2 separate regions of the Homo sapiens genome follow, and region 1 is linked to region 2. Evidence: promoter capture Hi-C in 16 types of primary human blood cells and fetal thymus (Javierre and others, 2016). All regions are on one chromosome and are shown on one strand. The core of a region is centred on a gene start or on the middle of the fragment in contact, and the rest is flanking DNA. Distances in the headings are between cores, read along the strand shown. Region 1 has its middle 23 kb from the start of CGA. Region 2 holds the start of SLC35A1 (solute carrier family 35 member A1).

The links. Contacts are between HindIII fragments. The CHiCAGO score rates a contact against its expected background, and 5 or more counts as called.
Region 1: a contact is called between a fragment that was not itself captured here and the fragment with the promoter of SLC35A1 in region 2, in 1 of 17 cell types (activated CD4 T cells). The highest score is 5.5, in activated CD4 T cells.

The regions. Positions count from the first base shown.
Region 1 is chr6:87,115,763-87,120,352 of GRCh38, forward strand. No RefSeq gene overlaps it. Among named protein-coding and RNA genes, the nearest start is that of CGA, 23 kb to the left of the region's middle. The HindIII fragment of the contact is 4,802 bases long and covers 322-4,590 here.
Region 2 is chr6:87,471,712-87,476,086 of GRCh38, forward strand. SLC35A1 (solute carrier family 35 member A1) reads left to right here and starts at 1,263. Exons shown (of 8, transcript NM_006416.5): 1 at 1,263-1,308. The coding sequence starts at 1,293. It overlaps LOC124901357 (a long non-coding RNA gene), which reads right to left and starts at 1,234. Exons shown (of 2, transcript XR_007059668.1): 1 at 1,062-1,234; 2 at 1-787. RefSeq lists enhancers at 910-1,816, 1,812-1,981, 2,032-2,131 and a silencer at 1,222-1,361. The HindIII fragment of the contact is 12,962 bases long and covers 1-4,375 here.

The DNA.
Region 1 (4,590 bases), core at 1,473-3,972, 350 kb before region 2:
AGAGAGCCTCTTTTTGTGTGTTATTTAGGTTGACACATCCAAGCAAATTTGTTAAACCCAAGGAGGAGAAGCATGGGAACCTCAGGTTATACAAAGTTGGTTAGGAGTGTACATGATAACCTATTGCTTGTAATTGGCATCTGAAGTGTGGGCTGAGCTCTTAGCCTGTGAGATCTCCAGATAGATAGTGTCAGAATTGAATTGAATCATAGGACACCCAGCTGGTGTCTGTTGGATATGTTGCGGGGGAAACCCCTCACACATCTGGTCACATAAGTGTTCTGTGTTGACTGTGACAGTATAGCAGAAAGAAAAAAAGAAAGCTTGTTTTTCCTTCAGATAGACTAAGCAGTTAGTATGTATCATGTTGATATAATTATGTCTCATAACTACCCTGAAAGATAGAAAATGTTATCGTCATTTTACAAAGGTTTAAACCCAAACTCAGACTTTTCCCCTCCCAGAATGCTCTCTGACTGGATATCAGCATTGTTCTCACATGTAGTATACTCACTTTAAAAGCACAACCTAAATGAATTAAAGAATAGCGCAACATTTTCTGACCTAGAATTGGTATGCCTTAAGCATTGCTTTAAATGCATGCTACCTTGTTTACCTTTATTAACTTTACACACATAAACCTGTGAGTTTAGATCCCAGAAATGCTTTATTCCCATTTTGTAAAGGGGAATTTTTTAACCCACTAGCTTATTATATCTTTCTTCCAATGTGTATTCTAGCTCCATGCTTTTTAAACTAATGCTAGGATTCTCAAACCAAGGTTCACCATGAGGATCAGGCATTCTTTAGATAAAGCTATTTCCTTATTAACATTATTAACCTCTCTTATTATCTTGTGGAGAAATCTATTACAAAAACTGTATTAGTTGGAATAGACTGGGTTATATGGTAGTAACAAATTAATCCTGAATTCTCAGTGTCTTAACATAGTTAAAGTTTTTGTTTGTTTGTTTGTTTTGTTTTGCTTTGTTTGAGACTAGGTCTTGCTCTGTAGCCCAGGCTGGAATATGGTGGCAAGATCACAGTTCACTGTAGCCTCAAACTCCCAGGCTCAAGCAATCCTCTCACCTCAGCCTCCTGAGTAGCTAGGACTACAGCATTTTCCACTATGCCCAGCTAACTTTTTTATTTTTTGTAGAGGCAGAATCTCACTATGTTGGCCAGGCTGGTCTCGAACTCCCAGACTCAAGCAGTCCTTCTACCTCAGCTTCCCAAAGTGCTGAGATTGCAGGCATGAGCCACCACACCTGGCCAATAGTGAAAATTTATTTCTTGCTCATTATACATGTCTATTACAGGTCAGCAAAAGTCCCTGCTCCACGTAGTCACTCAGAGACCTAAGTTGGCCAATGCCCACCAACTTGTAGATGCCCCATAGGGAATACACAACTTCCTCAATCAGGAGAAAAAAGAGACTAGAAAATTATACATAGACTTTTTACTACCTCTGCCTGAAGATCAATTTGGCTTTCATTTTATTGACCAAAGCTAGTCACATGAGCTCACTAACTACAAGGGGGCTGGAAAATGCAAGAGGATCAAATGAAACAATTGATAAGTGTTACTGGCTCTGTTACAAATCATATAATAATTTTCTAGGCTTTCATTTATCTTCTACTCCTTTGACTTAGAGGACAAAATGAATTATTGGTCACAGTGAATAAACTCACTTTAAAATTTTGTTTTGTTTTGCTTTTGATGCCCATTTAGAATCTGTATATATTTGCATTTGCTTAAGCATTATTCTGGAGGTGGGGAAGTGGTTTCTTCATGTATCAGCTAACAATTTCCATTGAGGCAAAATAGGAATCTGTAATATTCACTCTTTTACATTACCTTTATTATTTGACACTATGATTTAGATATATGACCCTACTCTGAAAATAAGGAAGATATTCTTTTATATGTAGATGACATGCCTCTATTTCAAGTACTCCAAGATTGGCTTTAAGAGAGAATCAACCTTCCTATCCCATTACTTCCCAAAAAGGAGCTAGAGACCAAGTACTCTAGAATTAAACCATTATTTTTGTTCACTATTACCCAACAGTAAACTGGTTCATAATTTACAACTCCATAAGTCCATTATCAATATTTTACACTTTAACTTAATATGTTCACCAGGAAATTATATTTCTTAAAGTTATACACTCTGTGGTTCCTTTTCTGAAATAGTTTTATGGCTAAGGCCAATGTTCAATTATAGTTGCCCAAAGTTTTTCCAAGGTAAAATAATTGTGGACATGATTAGAGTGATGGAATTTGACCTTCTGAGATCTCATTTATCTGTGTTTTAGAGCTCATCACATATTACTTTTGGAGAAGAATCTTGCCCTCTGCAAAGGTGTTGCCACAGGCATCTCTGTGCAGAGGTGAGGTGGCTGCCTTGTTAGGATTCTGAACTGTGCTCCCAGTCATTCCTAACTAATACCTGAGTGGCCTACTAAATGACTAATGACTAGGTAGCATATACAGCGTGTTTATGTTGGACAAAGGGATGATTCACATCCCGGGCAGGACAGAGTGCGATGGCAGGAGATTTCACCACACTGCTCAGAACAGCCTACAATTTAAAATGCATGAATTATTTCTGAAATTTTCCATTGGATATTTTCAAATCATGATTTACTTTAGTATTAAATCATGGAAAATGAAATCGTGGGTAAGAAGGGACTACTGTACTCACAGTTATGGCCTGAACTTAACAAGAGAATGAAGGGCCTCTCACTATGTTCTGTGCTCCAAACTTGCTCTTAGCTTTATGTTACTTTCTTTTTTTTTTTCTTTTTTCTTTTTTTACTTTAAGTTCTGGGATACATGTGCAGAATGTGCAGGTTTGTTACATAAGTATACATGTGCCATGGTGGTTTGCTACACCTATCAACCCTTCATCTAGGTTTTAAGCCCTGCATGCATTAGGTATTTCTCCTAACGCTCTCCCCGCCCTTTCCCCCAACCCCCTAACAGGCTCTGGTGTATGATGTTCCCCTCCCTGTGTCCATGTGTTCTCATTGTTCAACTCCCACTTATGAGTGAGAACATGTGGTGTTTGGTTTTCTGTTCCTGTGTTAGTTTGCTGAAAATGATGGCTTCTAGCTTCACCCATGTCCCTGCAAAGGACATGAACTCATTCTTTTTTATGGCTGCATAATAGTCCATGGTGTATATATGCCATATTTTCTTTATCCAGTCTATCACTGATGGCATTTGGGTTGGTTCCAAGTCTTTGTTATTGTGAACAGTGCTGCAATAAACATACATGTGCATGTGTCTTTATAGTAGAATGATTTATAATCCTTTGGGTATATACCCAGTAACGGGATTGCTGGGTCAAATGGTATTTCCGGCTCTAGATCCTTGAGGGATCATCACACTGTCTTCCACAATTGTTGAACTAATTTACATTCCCACCAACAGTGTAAAAGCGTTCCTAAACCCTGATGTTCCATTTACTCTGGTTCCCTCATTTTATTTTGCTTTATTATTTGTAGCTTTTTAAGCTGTTAAAACCTTTTTGGAACCACACAAGGTATCAACTGACCTTTCAAAGTTTACTAATAGAAGGCCAGATGTGGTGGCTTATGCCTGTAATGCCAGCACTTTGGGAGGCTGAGGCGGGCAGGTTGATTGAGGCCAAGAGTTCGAGACCAGCCTGGCCAACGTGGTGAAATGTCCTCTCTACTAAAAATACAAAAATTAGCCGGGCTGGTGGTGCACACCTGTAGTCCCAGCTACTCAGGAGGATGAGACAGGAGAATCGCTTGGACTTGGGAGGCGGAGGTTGCAGCGAGCCTCCCAAGGTGCACCACTGCACTCCAGCCTGGGTGAGACTATCTCAAAAACAAGCAAACAAACAAACAAAAAGTTCACTAATAAGAAGGCATACATTAGTTATAGAAAACTTGACCTAGTATATGCCTGTTCTTTCTTCCTATCTTTCTTCCTATCTCCCCTCACCTTTCACAGTTGCATTTTCAATTACAAAAGAAAGACATGTCTTTCATGCATTCCAAAACTGACTGTATTGAATCGCCTTGAGAATGAAAATTCTAGAGTGAAAACATAGGGAGAATTCAAAATATCTGTGTTGATGAAGCCATCCTTTTTTTTCTTTTTCTTCAACTTTTAAGTTCCAGGGTACGTGTACAGGATGTACGTGTGCTTACTGTTACACAGGTAAGCAAGTGCCATGGTGGTTTGCTTCACAAATCATCCCATCACCTAGGTGTTAAGCCCAGCATCCACTATCTATTCTTCCTGATGCTCTTCCTCCCCCCCACCAACCCCCTCCCCACAGGCCCCAGTGTGCGTTGTTCCCCCGCATGTGTCCATGTATTCTCATCATTCAGCTCCCTCTTGTAAGTGAGAACATGCTGTGTTTGGTTCTCTGTTCCTGTGTTAGTTTGCTGAGGATAATGGGATGAAGACATCTTTAATGAGGACACCATAAACCCACAGTAGGTCTTAGCATTTTTCTCTGTCTTAAACCTATTTCTCTCTTTTTTTTTTTTTAAATCCTTAGGGGGATCCTTTATTTCATTCACCTCCTCCTTACAAGGTGGAATTTTA
Region 2 (4,375 bases), core at 13-2,512:
ATATTAATATGATGCTAATAAGGCATGCAAAATGTTCCAACAATGTTAACAGACCAGATATATCTATATGTATATTTAACAAGACAATGGTATACAACCAACCCTCTAAAAGGACAATTTTGGGGAAAGAACATGCTGCAGAAGGTGTGGGCTGCTGGGCAGCTCAGAATCTTGCATCCCTATTCCTGTAAGTGCTGAGGTATTTTCATATTATTTTAAACCAATCCACATATCTTGAACATCATTTATTTCACCAATGAATTATTTCTAATATCAATTATGATAGCTAATTAACATCCCCTAGTGAAAGTGGAGATTATAGTGGTTAAAATGCCTGTTGATATATCTAATTTTTTTTGTTTTTTGAGACGAAGTCTCGCTGTGTCGCCCAGGCTGGAGTGCAGGGGCGCAATCTCGGCTCACTGCAATCTCCCGGGTTCAAGTGATTCTCCCGCTTCGGCCTCCTGAGTAGCTGGGATTACCGGTGCGCGCCACCACGCCCGGCTAATTTTTTGTATTTTTAGTAAAGACGGGGTTTCGCCATATTGGCCAGGCTGGTCTCGAACTCCTGACCTTAGGTGATCCATCTGCCTCGACTTCCCAAAGTGCTGGGATTACAGGCGTGAGCCACCACGCCCGGCCGATACATCTGATTTTTTAAAGGCCGTTTTGTTGTGCGAAGATCATTAGTTAGAATGCCTGGCTGGGTAAATACAACCGATGACTGCTGACGATATGGAACAGGCACAAGACTTCTGAACGATATGTAGAATAAATTATAACTTATCTAGAACACAAGGTAACAGTGGAAGATAATGAGCCAGGTGGAAGTTACAAATGTTGCCGCAAGTAGTTTCTGTTACTTTACGAGTTCTGGGAGCTTCTCTAACAGCTTTGACAGGAGTGAATCCCCAAGGCTAAACCCAAATCCTTATTTGCCGCCTACTCACGCCTTTGTGAGGACTACGATTCCCAGACGGCAACGCTCCCTTCACTCAACTTCCTTAGCTGGCGGGGAGACGCAGTTTACAGAACTACCTCCCCAACCGAATTTCACACACCTGTCACCTAGGACGCGGCCGGGAAGGCCTCCCTTCGATCCGCGTTCTCCCCATTTTGGGGTGTAGCTTGGATTCCTGAGCCCAGTTTTAGTGCGTGGCCGACCGGGAGGCCGGCGAGGCGCTCTAGGCCGAGCGGCTTCGTCTCTATGACCACAAGGGGCGGTCCCCGGTGTCCTGCGCGGGGGCGCGGAGGGGGCGGGCGTCAGTTCCGCGGGGGGCTGTCGGGGAACCATGGCTGCCCCGAGAGGTGAGAACTGGGTCTGCTGGGAGTGGGGAGTCCGCGGGGGGCGGCGGCGGGCGAGCATCTGCGCTGGTCAGCCCCTGTCGGGCAGCGGAGCACCCTGGTTGCCCAGTGCCTCTGGGGCCTGGCTGAGGCGTCAGGAGTTTGCGTGGAGCCGCTCCCGGCAGTCAGGGCAGCCTGCCTTCCGCTGCGGCTGCAGTCTCCGCGGCTGACTCCGCGCTGGGCAGGTCGGAGTCAGAGACCGCACTGACCTCCACTAGCTGGGAGTGGGTGGGAACCGAATTCTGACAGGCCGGGGCTGCGGCGGACCCGGAGAGAGGCCAGGGCGTGGGTCCGGGGCTGGACCGCATTACCCAGCGAGGCAGGACAGTTCTTCACCCTGGCCCCGCGGCTCCGGTCTCCTCTGCGCCTCCTACCCTGTGGATGCTCAGAGGCTTAAAGGCAGGCTCCGGGCGCAGATCCCATGCGGCGGCTGGGCCATGCAACAACCACTAAAGACATCACTGGGGCGTCAAAACAGCACTGAAATCGTAACGAAAGGAAGATAACAGTCGTTAACAGTTCCCACCTGTATGCTGTGTGTAATTATAGAGAATGCTGTATGCTGCTATTTGGGGTGGAAGCTGAGATCCACCTCCCTCCTCCTGAGGGATGGCACATTCGGGTGAAGGCGTATTTGTTGACTAATTGACATTTAAGGAGGGCGAGTCTAATTGACTCCGCACCACTTTTTGCTGAGCAGTGTGTGTAAGTTGGGACCAGAGGTGGATTCTTTGACTGTGGTGCATTAACCAGGAGAAGTTGGGCAACACCCGGATTCTTGCTCCACCCTTCCTCCATAGAGCACTTGGCTTCACCCTTGAATAAATATTGAACGAATACATAAGGAATATCTTCTTGCGTGGGTTTCAAGTTATTTTCCCTGTTGCGGGGTCCATGTTTCTCATCAGGCCCTGCCCAGGGGCATTGTCTTTAGTTGCATATGCTTCTCTTATGTCTTCTTTCTGTTTCATTTCAAATAAGTCCAATCTTAAAAGCCTTTTTTTGTAGCAACACAGGAAATAAAAGAAAAAGAAATAGAATTGTTTTGATAACTAAAATGGAATGGGGATAGCAAAATTGATCCGAACGAAAACTTATAAATTACAGAAGTCAAATCATTACTTGAAATAGCTGCAACAATGTAAAGGTTTAGGCTTATTGCCAATACATATTTGTTGAGCCTTGATTGTAATCCTAACAAAACTACAGTTTCCATAGTTTCCGAATATCCACAAAGGATTTATCTGGGACTTACAGAATTTCTAAGTTCTTAAGTATTACAAATAATGTCCCCATAAACTATAGTAAAACATAACCGAAAAAAAACATTTTAAACTGTAAGTTTCTTTTGGGGGACATTTCCACACAAACACTATATGGGAGCTAATAGAATTTCGTGAGAAGCAGGGAACAATGCAGGGTTAAGATGTGGCTGCCAGTTGAGTTGTGGGCTAGCTTTATAGTTACTGGCATTGGGTGTGATTTGAATTATTTGCCCAATTTGAAGTGATTACATATGGACTTTTGCTGTTACCCTGAAATAATTGAAATTGCTAATAACTGAAGTTTTATACTGGAGAATTTGTGAATGGAGTGAACAAGAAATAGTTTGGTCTGATGTTAAACTGCCAGAGAAAATCGTACTTAAAAACATTTAGTATTTAAAAGTTGAAATACGTTTAAAAACTGGTATTCCATGTCAAAGCCCAATCTGTTTTGCACATACCTAAACTTATTTGATTACCCTTCCACTTAGATCAGTAGTTATTTTCAAGAATATAATATATATTCCCATATACTCACTATGCAAAAAGGTATTTTTTCAAGTTAATGACAATATTATAAGTCAGAATATGTTTGTAGGCTATCAATATTTGGTTTAGTGTTTAAATATTCACTTTGTTGTTTTTGGAATCAGGAACCTGTACAGTAGCTAAAATAAAGTACTTTTTAGTTTATCAGCCCTAACTTCTCTTATTTATGAAAGTGTTGATAATCTAGGACATGAGATGGCAAACTTTTCCTGTGAAGGGCTGGATAGTCTCTTGTCATAACTACTCAGATCTGCTGTTGTAGGGAAAAAAAAGTAGCCTGGATAATTTAGAAACAAATGAGCATGGCTATGTTCTAATAAAACTATTCATGGACACTAGAATTTGAATTTCCTGCAATTTTCACATATCACAAGATGTTATTACATTTTTTATCAACCATTTAAAAATGTAAAACAATCGTGAGTTCACAGGCCTCATGTAAACTGGCGACATATATAGTTTGTTCACCCTTTATCTAGAAGATGGGAAGTGCCTTCTCTTCTACTGATTAAAGGTTATTGCTGTATATTTTTGAAGTCATATTTCTTCCCTTGTGTAGGAAAGTTTTAGAACAAAGGAAGTATTATAGTGATCTCCTTCACTTCCTTTTATATAAACACTGATTTTTTGGCTCCTCAGATCTTTTGGAAAGAAAGTTTAAGCAGTTAAAAACTATTTCTTCTGTTTTACTTTTTATTTAAAACCTGATATGGTTTTTAAAAATTGCCTACAATTCAGAAAATATTCTTTAATGCACTCGGGAAAATATTTATATTGAAGAACCTGTTTCCTTGTAAGATCCAACCATACTGTATCTAAAGATAATCTGTTTGAAACTCCTGTTTTATTTCCCTATGAAAACTATCTTTGAATTGTGATTAGGCTCCCAAAGCAGTGAACAAAATCTTACTTAGCATATAATGTAGTTAAAGTAGCAGGCTGGAGTCACCTGGTGTCCTTCTGGTTCTTAACCTGGAGTTGTCAAAGTATGGCTCTGGAAAGCCTAAAATATTTGTTTCTGGCCCTTTGCAGAAAAATTTGCTGATCCCTGTTTAACCTTGAGCCTAAAGATTTGAATGGAGGTGAAGGGGAACTGGGGGACAATAGGTGGGAGGTGGGTGAGGAAAGTAGAAATAGTTTGATCCTTGGGTGATGGCAGTACCCGAGCAGGTCTGGGAATAAGGAAGTATGAGGGAGACTTGGTACCCACTGCTTAT